Linked DNA regions of Homo sapiens: region 1 is linked to region 2. Evidence: promoter capture Hi-C in human tissues and cell types (Jung and others, 2019). All regions are on one chromosome and are shown on one strand. Each heading gives the region's core, a stretch centred on a gene start or on the middle of the fragment in contact. The rest is flanking DNA. Distances are from core to core; before and after follow the strand shown.

What was found. The method cuts DNA at HindIII sites, captures the fragments that hold promoters and counts their contacts. A contact is called where the count stands out against the background at its distance.
Region 1: a fragment that was not itself captured here is called in contact with the fragment with the promoter of MOK in region 2 in 1 of the 25 tissues and cell types used here (spleen).

What each region holds. Positions count from the first base shown.
Region 1 is chr14:103,391,560-103,396,001 of GRCh38, forward strand. The region is part of intron 1 of MARK3 (microtubule affinity regulating kinase 3); the gene reads left to right. Among named protein-coding and RNA genes, the nearest start is that of MARK3, 8.4 kb to the left of the region's middle. The HindIII fragment of the contact is 4,446 bases long and covers 1-3,923 here.
Region 2 is chr14:102,303,422-102,308,006 of GRCh38, forward strand. It overlaps MOK (MOK protein kinase), which reads right to left and starts at 1,743. Exons shown (of 12, transcript NM_014226.3): 1 at 1,541-1,743. The coding sequence starts at 1,547. RefSeq lists enhancers at 1,624-2,146, 1,913-1,962. The HindIII fragment of the contact is 9,726 bases long and covers 1-4,585 here.

The sequences.
Region 1 (4,442 bases), core at 451-2,950, 1.1 Mb after region 2:
TTGAGATGGAGTCTTGCTCTGTCGCCCAGGTTGGAGTGCAGTGGTGCAATCTCGGCTCACTGCCAACCTCTGCCGCCCGGGTTCAAGCGATTGTCGTGCGCAGCCTCCCGAGTAGCTGGGATTACAGGCTCCCGCCACCATGCCTGGCTATTTTTTTTTTTTTTTTTTTTTTTTTTTTAGTAGAGATGGGGTTTCGCCATGTTGGCCAGGCTGTTCTCAAACTCCTGACCTCAGGTGATCCGCCCGCCTTGGCCTCCCAAAGTGCTGGGATTACAGGCGTGAGCCACTGTACCTGGTCAAAATATGCTTTTTAAAGGCAACCAAACAGTTTGCATTTCAGTTTATGTTCTATAGTTATATGGAGCCACGGATACATCCTTTTTCTATACTGGCAAAATGAGAAACATATTTTTCACCTGAATTTCAAAGGATATGACACTTCGTAAGCCTGGTAATGTTATTGGCCAAAGTACCAGAGGCCCAGGGCTTTCCCAGTTATTTAACAGTTACTGATATGTGTGCATCATGTACTTATTATTAGTTAATGCAAATAGTCCCCCAAATTTCTGACCTCTGTGAAACTGATGATGCTGTTGTCTAGTCAGTCATCGGTTATGTGAGACTGAATTAACCTATTCAGCAAGTGTGAATGCCTACCGTGTGTATGATACTGTGCTAGGTGCTGTAGAGGCCATATACCTGGGACACATAGCTTTCCTGCTCTTTAGGATTTCCTGCTCCTTGCAGGACAAAGCAGCCTGAGCTTTATGAAACTAGTCTGTAACTCTCAAACTTAAGCAAACATTAGAATCACCTGAAGGGCTTTAGAACCGTGATCACTGGGCCCTACCCCTAGACCTTGATTTTACCCGTAGAATTGGAATTTCTAACAAGTTGCCAGGTGATGTTGATGCTCCAGGTCCGGGGACCACTCTTAAGAATCACTATAGCAGGAATTTCTGATGTTTATTTATTAAGAAAAAAAAATCACTGCCTTAGTGTGCAGTGAAGGCTTGCTAACTAAACTATACTCCTTTTAGATTGTACTGTGACTATCAAAGGAAGATTTCCAGACCATTTAATTGAGTTTTCAGGTTCCATGAGTTTAAAAAAAACTGTTTATTAAAAATTGTGGTTCTGGAAAATAACAATAGTTGCCATTTGGTGATCACTTAACTGTATACCAGCCAGCAATACTTTGTAGAGTATCTCATTTAAAATATGTAATATGGTTTTATTTAATTAGCTTTTTTTTTTTTTAAATTTCCTGAGGCGGAGTCTCACACTGTTACCTGGGCTGGAGTGCAGTGGCACGATCTCGCTCGCTGCAACCTCCGCCTCCCGGGTTCAAGCGATTCTCCTGCCTCAGCCTCCCAGGTAGCTAGGATTACAGGCAGCCGCCACCACACCCAGCTAATTTTTAAATTTTATTTTATTTTTTGAGACAGAGTTTCACTCTTGTTGCCCGGGCTGGAGTGCAGTGGCATGATCTTGGCTCACTGCAACCTCCGCCTCCTGGCTTCAAGCAATTCTGCCTCAGCCTCCCGAGTAGCTGGGATTACAGGTGCCTGTTACCATGCCCAGCTGATTTTTTTGTATTTTCGGTAGAGACTGGGTTTCACCATGTTGGCAGGCTGATCTGGAACTCCTGACCTCATGATCCTCCCACTTCCCTCCTCGGCCTCCCAAAGTGCTGGAATTACAGGCGTGAGCCACTGTGCCCCGGCTTAATCAGCTTGTCAACTTCTAAGCACAACCTGTTGAATCAAGCTGTTTGGGCCTTATCAGAAAAAAGTTGGCCTATAGTTTCAGCTACTCAGGAGGCTAAGGCCAGAGGATCACTTGAGGCCAGGAGTTCCAGTCGACCTGGACAACATGGTGAAACTATGTATCTTAAGAAAGAAAAAAAAAAGTTGATCTCTGAAGAATTCATGAAAATATTTAGTCAGTTTTCAGGGAAAGATCTTATAGACTTCAATTTGAGCATCCTTATCTTATGTATGTAAATGAGGTAAAGGTTGAAATTTGCAGTAAATAGAATTTTGGTCATTTAAGTTATGTAGCTCATGATATATACATTGTATAACTATTTAGACTTACATGGTGCATGATTTACATTGTAATTACATAGAGGCTTATACAGTCTAATAAAAATTAATATTAACTATTTGATTGCAAAGAGGATTGTTCTGCATTTTATTACTTTTTTTTTTTTTTTGAGACAGAGTTTCACTCTTGTTGCCAGGCTGGAGTGCAATCTCGTGACCTTGGCTCACTGCAACCTCCGCCTGCCAGCCTAAGTAGCTGGGGTTACAGGCACACACCACCATGCCCAGCTAATTTTTTGTATTTTTAGTAGGGATGGGGTTTCACCATGTTAGCCAGGCTGGTCTCAAACTCCTCACCTTGGGTTATCCGCCTGCCTTGGCCTCCCAAAGTGCTGGGATTACAGGCTTGAGCCACTGCGCTCGGCCTGCATTTTATTATTCTAAGATATAGCCAAATTTTATGCCTGGAATTTTTTCCTGGGCTGGAACAAATTCCTAGTAAGAGTCAGGGAATATTCCGTGACTTGTGGCTTTGGTTAAAAAAGAAAAAGGAGTCAGGGAATGCAGTACCCTCTGATCACCACTGGGAGGACTAAAGCAGAAAATTCATTTGTCTCATATCCATTTTCAAATTTCAAATTAAACATGAAGGAGAAAATAAATCTCTTACCTGGGAAGCTTTAATGTCCTGTCTCACACAAGAAGTTAAAGGTTGTGCTTGGAGTTGGTCTGCAAAAGTAATAAGGAATTTGTACTCACCCGTCTGCACCTGCTTGTACAGAACAATTGGAAGGGCAGAAGTTGGCTTTGAAAGAAAAGGCCTTTTTTTGGAGGTGGGAGGGGCATCCAATTTTGTCTTCAGCCGAGAGTTCGCTAGCACTACACTCTAGCCACTCAAGCTGCTCAACTATGGTTGGTCTTGTGTACTTCTGTGTGCACTAGATAAGACATTGTTTCTGTGGGTTATGTGGGACCTTGAAGTTCAGTGTTGAAGCTCAAACAAAGCAGGTGTTTTTTCTGTATTTCTTGTTGACAGGCATTTGCTTTTTGTTGGACCTAAATATTGTGGGGTTTGTGTATGGACATTTGACACAAAAATCTGTATTGGTAGAATTTAATATAAAATCAGAGAAGTTGAATTCACAGGTTTTGTTCATAGAATTTTACATAACTCTAGTCTTTTTTCTTTTTTTGTGATGGAGTCTTGCTCTGTTGCCCAGGCTGGAGTGCAGTGGCATGATCTTGGCTCACTGCAACCTCTGCCTCCTGGGTTCAAGTGATTGTCCTGCCTCAGCCTCCCGAGTAGCTGGGATTACAGGCACCCGCCACCACGCCTGGCTAATTTTTGTATTTTTAGTAGAAACGGGGTTTCACCATGGCCAGGCTGGTCTTGAACTCCTGACCTCAAGTGATCCACCTGCCTCGGCCTCCCAAAGTGCTAGGATTATAGGCATGAGCCACAGCGCCTGGCCACAATCTTACACTACTTTCCTGAAGGGATGTGTGATGGAAAGAGTCTGGGCTTGAAAGTGGAAGACAAAAATGAGAGTCTAAGACTGATCGAGATAAAGATTCTGAAGAGGTAGAATGGACCTCATAAGATGGAGCAAAAAAGAAGGAACAACATATAAAAGGAGAAATTAGAATTTAGAGTTATAGACTGGAATTTGAAACTAGTCTTGAGATTTAACTGTGGACAAATTCACTCGGCTGTGCCTCATGGTTTTTTTTTTTTTAAATCAAAAGAGAATAACATCATTCAAGTTGTGTCTTGGTTTTTTTGTTTGTTTACTTAGATTTTTATGACTTCACTTTCTCAATTTCCTCTGTGGCCAGATTCATCAGGCATTCAGTCACTTTCATCTCTGTCAGGCTGGCCTTGTGTTCTGTCTGTCTGTTCTGCTGCATAGTTGTCATCCTGAGATCTCCCTTCACCCATATCCTAGGGATTCCCTTTGCCTTTCCTGTTCGATCCATTTTCTTCCCCTTGGTTCACTCCCAGGTTTCATTGCAGCAGTTCCTCCAGTGATTTTCTGAGAAAGTTGCTCAGAGGTAAATTTTTAAAATCCTTTCATATCTGCAAACATCTTTATTCTGTTCTCATACTTGATTGATATTTTGGCTGCATATAGAATTCTAGACTGAATGCCCTTTTTCCTCAGAATTTTGTTTTCTGTCTTATATAGCATCTGACACTCCGATTTGGAGAGAGAGAATGCTATTTTGAGTCTTGCTTATTTTTCTGTTTGTTTAAGGCTGATTGGAAGTTTTGTGCATTTGGATGGATCTTGAATACAACAGTGGGACACACTGTTATTTCTTTGTGGTGCTCTTGATACCAATATATTTAGTCTTATCACTTGGCCTAGGCAAGCACGGAATGCCCATGTTCCA
Region 2 (4,585 bases), core at 493-2,992:
GAGGACAGCCAAATAAAAATGAAAATATCATTGTCATGAAAGACACAAAAGGCAGGGACACCATATTAAAAGAGACCAAAGAGATATGACAACAGAATACAATTGGTGATTCTTGATTGGATAGAAAAAATATAAACAACTATAACACATGTTATTGGGATAAATGGAAAAACTGAAATATGGACTGTGTATCAGAGTATTGTATCATTGTTAAATTTTCTAAATGTGTTATTTGTACTGTGATGATGTAGGAGAATGTCCTTGTTCTTGGCAGATAACTGCTGAAAGAAGTGGTGAATTATTAGTAGTCTACAACTAACTCTTGAAAGGTCCAGTGAAAATAAATACATAAATGGGAGAGAGAAAACACCAGAGCGAAAGCGAGCACACAAAAATAAGGCAAAATGGTGCAGCTAAGTGAAGGACGGGTTTATAAATATTCAATGTACTGCTCTTGCAACTTTCCTGTACATCTGAAAATTTTCAAAACAAACAGATGGGAAGAAAAAAATGAATATAGTACAAAATATGTGCAGTATCATAGTCTGCACTGTAAGTAAAAGTGTAAAGTCTTTTGTAGACCTTGGATTCTAACTACAGCTTTGTAGTGCATTAATGAAAAAGGTAAACATTAAACAATATCCAACAAAATAAAATAAAAATAAAAATGCCTTGTAAAGGGTGAATGAGATTAATTATTTTAAATGTTATGCAATGTACACCATTGACAATTAGGATACAATGCAAATTTAACATTATAACTACTCCTAACATAATATTTTCACAGCAAAGGTCTGAATTTTTACTGCACCTCTGGTTCACAACCATAAACAATTATATCTGTACAGTAATAATAATTTTAAAAACATCATTCTAGCTGGTTGCACTTGGATTGTCAATAATCCACAAATCCCACTAAAGAAAATTTTTTACCCGTTACATTTTCTAGAATGACTACCTCATTTCCCAACTTTGAAGTAACAGCTTTTAACTAAAAGGTTGCTTCAAAACTACTATTAAAAAGTGGTTCCTATAAAACACTACTGCTTGACCCAAAAAATAAAATAAAGCACACAGCCCAGCTTTCCTCTCAATTGGTCACTAAACCAGTATCATGAAAAGGCAGGGAGCCACGCTGTAAGCGCTCCCCCGTTTTCTGCCGAATGTTCAGGAAAAGAGTGTCAGGTTCAAGCCAGCATTTAAAATAAAATAAAATGAATCACAGTCAACTCCCTAAACTCCAATGTAAGAACCACGCACCTGCACCAAAATATGCCTGAGCGGGAACTCGAGTCGGCTCTCCGAGACCCCAAAGTTCCCAACCTAGCCCCAACCCCTCAAGCTTCCCCCAGGGGCACCGGCTTCTCACAGCCGAGGGGGATTCGGGGCCCACATGCGGAGCCTCCCGGGCCTGTCGAGCCACGGCAGAAGGCGACGACGCCCGGCCCCACAGGCCCCTCAAGCTCCTCAAGCTCCCCCAGTCCCTCCCTCCCCCGCCACTCGCTCTCCAGTCCCTGCCCCTTTCCCCGGCCCCACTCACTCTTCATCTTGGATGCGGAAGCCGGTGACAACCCCTTGCCGACACTGGACGGAAAAGAAAGAAGCAGGAAGGTTGTCCCCCTGCTTTCCACTTCCCTGAGGCGGGGTCCCGCACTAGGATCTCCGTGGTGGTCCCTCGAAGGAGAGCGTTAGAGATCCCGCCGCCATGTTGTGTCCCTGTCACCCTAGCAACCGTCAGGCCCTGAACGCCATGAGCTGTCGCCTGCGCATGCGCAAGATGCCCCGCCCATGTACGCGTGCGCAGTGCAGCCCGTCCCCTCAGCCCGGTTGCTAAGCAGCCTTTCCTCCGCTTCCATGTAAATACTGTGCAAATCCCCGCCTTTGACACAGGCGACCTTCGCTCGGCTCGCTCTCCCTGCTGGCCTGGGAACTTAGCGATTTGGAACCCACTACGTGGACGATAGCCTTGAGCTTTAATTGGGCTTGGGAGCTTCTACAGGAATTTTTTTTTTTTTTTGAGACAGAGTGTCGCTCTGTTACCCAGGTTGGGGTGCAATGGCGTGATCTCGGCTCACTGCAACCTCCGCCTCCCGGCTTCAAGCGATTCTCCTGCCTCAGCCTCCCAAGTAGCTGGGATTACAGGCACCCACCACTACACCCGGCTAATGTTTTTGTATTTTTAGTAGAGACGGGGTTTCACCATGTTAGGCTGGTCTCGAACTCCTGACCTCAGGTGATCCGCCTGCCTCGGCCTCCCGAAGTGCTGGGATTACAGGCGTGAGCCACCACGCCCGGCCCAGTTTTTCTTTTTAATTCAACAAGCATTTGTTTTTGCCCCAGGAACTGTCGCAGGTATTGGGGATTAAAGGACAGTGTAGACGAGGTGACTGAGTTCTTGAAACTAACATTCTAGTGTAAAGATGAATGAATGTACACCGGAATGAACTATGTGCAGACACGGTGCCTAAGCAACACAGTGGCCTAGTTCTCTGGACCCTGACAAAACAATAAAATAACAAGCATACTATGTATGGGTATAGTATTTTATGAAGCTCATTAGATTAGCCTCATAATTATTCCATGAGATCAAAACCCTGTTTTTTCCTCCATTTTTTTTCTTTTACTAAAATACATCGTTTATTTTTAAAACAGATAAGTAGCCTTGCCAAAACGAAGCCTCAGAAAATTGGTTTAAGACTGAATTGGCCAGGTGTGGTGGCTCACACCTGTAATCCCAGCACTTTGGAAGGCCGAGGCAAGAGGATCGCTTGAGGCCAGAAATTCAAGACCAGCCTGGGCAACATAGAGAAACCCCACTTCCCTCTTAAAAAAAAAAAAAAAAAAACTCCGGGCGTGGTGGCTCACGCCTGTAATCCCAGCACTTTGGGAGGCCAAGGCGGGCAGATCACGAGGTCAGGAAATCGAGACCATCCTGGCTAACACGGTGAAACCCCATCTCTACTAAAAATACAAAAAAAATTAGCCGGGCGTAGTGGCGGGCGCTATAGTTCCAGCTACTCCGGGGGCTGAGGCAGGAGAATGGCGTGAACCCTGGAGGCGGAGCTTGCAGTGAGCCGAGATTGCACCACCTGCACTGCAGCCTGGGCGACAGAGCAAGAGACTCAAAAAAAAAAAAAAAAAAAAAAAAAAGCCGGGCACGGTGGCACATGCCTGTAAACCCAGCTATTCAGGAGAATAAGGCGGAGGTATCTTGAGACCAGGAGTTCTAGGCTCAGTGAGCTATGATAGCACCACTGCACTCTAGCCTGGGTGACAAAGCAAGACCTTGTCTCGAAAGAAAGAGAAAGCGGCCGGTCGCGGTGGCTCACACCTGCAATCCCAGCACGTTGGGCGGCCGAGGCAGGCAGATCACTTGAGTCCAGGAGTTCGAGACCAGCCTGGCCAACATGGGGGAAACCCCGTCTCTACTAAAAAAATACAAAACGGCTGGGCACAGTGGCTGATGCCTGTAATCCCAGCACTTTGGGAGGCCAAGGCGGGTGGATCCCCAGGTCAGGAGTTCAAGACTAGCCTGGCCAAGATGGTGAAACCCCATCTCTACTGAAAATAGAAAAATGAGCCGGGTGTGGTGGCAGGCACCTGTAATCCCAGCTACTCGGGAGGCTGAGGCAGAGAATTGCTTGAACCCGGGAGGCGGAGGTTGCAGTGAGCCGAGATTGCGCCACTGCACTCCAGCCTGGGCGACAGAGTGAGACTCCGTCTAAAAAAGCAAATACATAAATAAAATACAAAACAAGCCAGGCGTGGTGGCTCACACCTATAATCCCAGCACTTTGGGAGGCCGAGGAGGATGGACCAACTGAGGTCAGGAATTCGAGACCAGCTGGCCAACCAACATGGTGAAACCCTGTCACTACTAAAAATACAAAAATTAGCCAGGTGTGGTGATGCGCTCCTGTAATCCCAGCTACTCAGGAGGCTGAGGCGGGAGAATCACTTGAACCCAGGAGGTGGAGGCTACAGTGAGTCGAGATCCTGCCACTACACTCCAGTCTGGGCGACAGAGCAAGACTCCATCTCAAAAAATAATAAATAAATAAATGGTTACAATGGTGAATTTTATGTAAATTTTCTCTCAATAAAAAAGTTGAAAAAATAAATAGCGATTATTGCTGGTGTATTATTGTTGGTGGTGCTATCTTTGTTGGCTTTGAGAAGCCACATCTAATCTCTCCAGACCACTAGGATTTGATCTATCCCTTCTTCTCTTCTTGTGTTCTTTCTTATTTGGGGGCTTGCCCTTATGTCACATTTATATTTCTAACCCTGTCTCTTGCTTGTTAGTTTCTTCTAACCAGGTGGGTTCTAAGTTCCTTGGGCCCCTCATGTGTCTTTTCTCTACCCTGCAGGGCAGAGTGTATTAAATAAGTGAACAGGTGAATGCATTTAGCAAGTGAGAGCCCCATTGTTTCCCAATTCACCAGGTGCTGATGGATTTTCTTCTTCCCTTCATTGTGGACAAGTGGTTCTCAGAAGTGACGTTGTAGAGACCATGTTGGTCCTGATTGGGCAGATGATTTAGAGCAAGGTGCCCCCAGGGGGTAGACACAGTCTATGTGCTTAC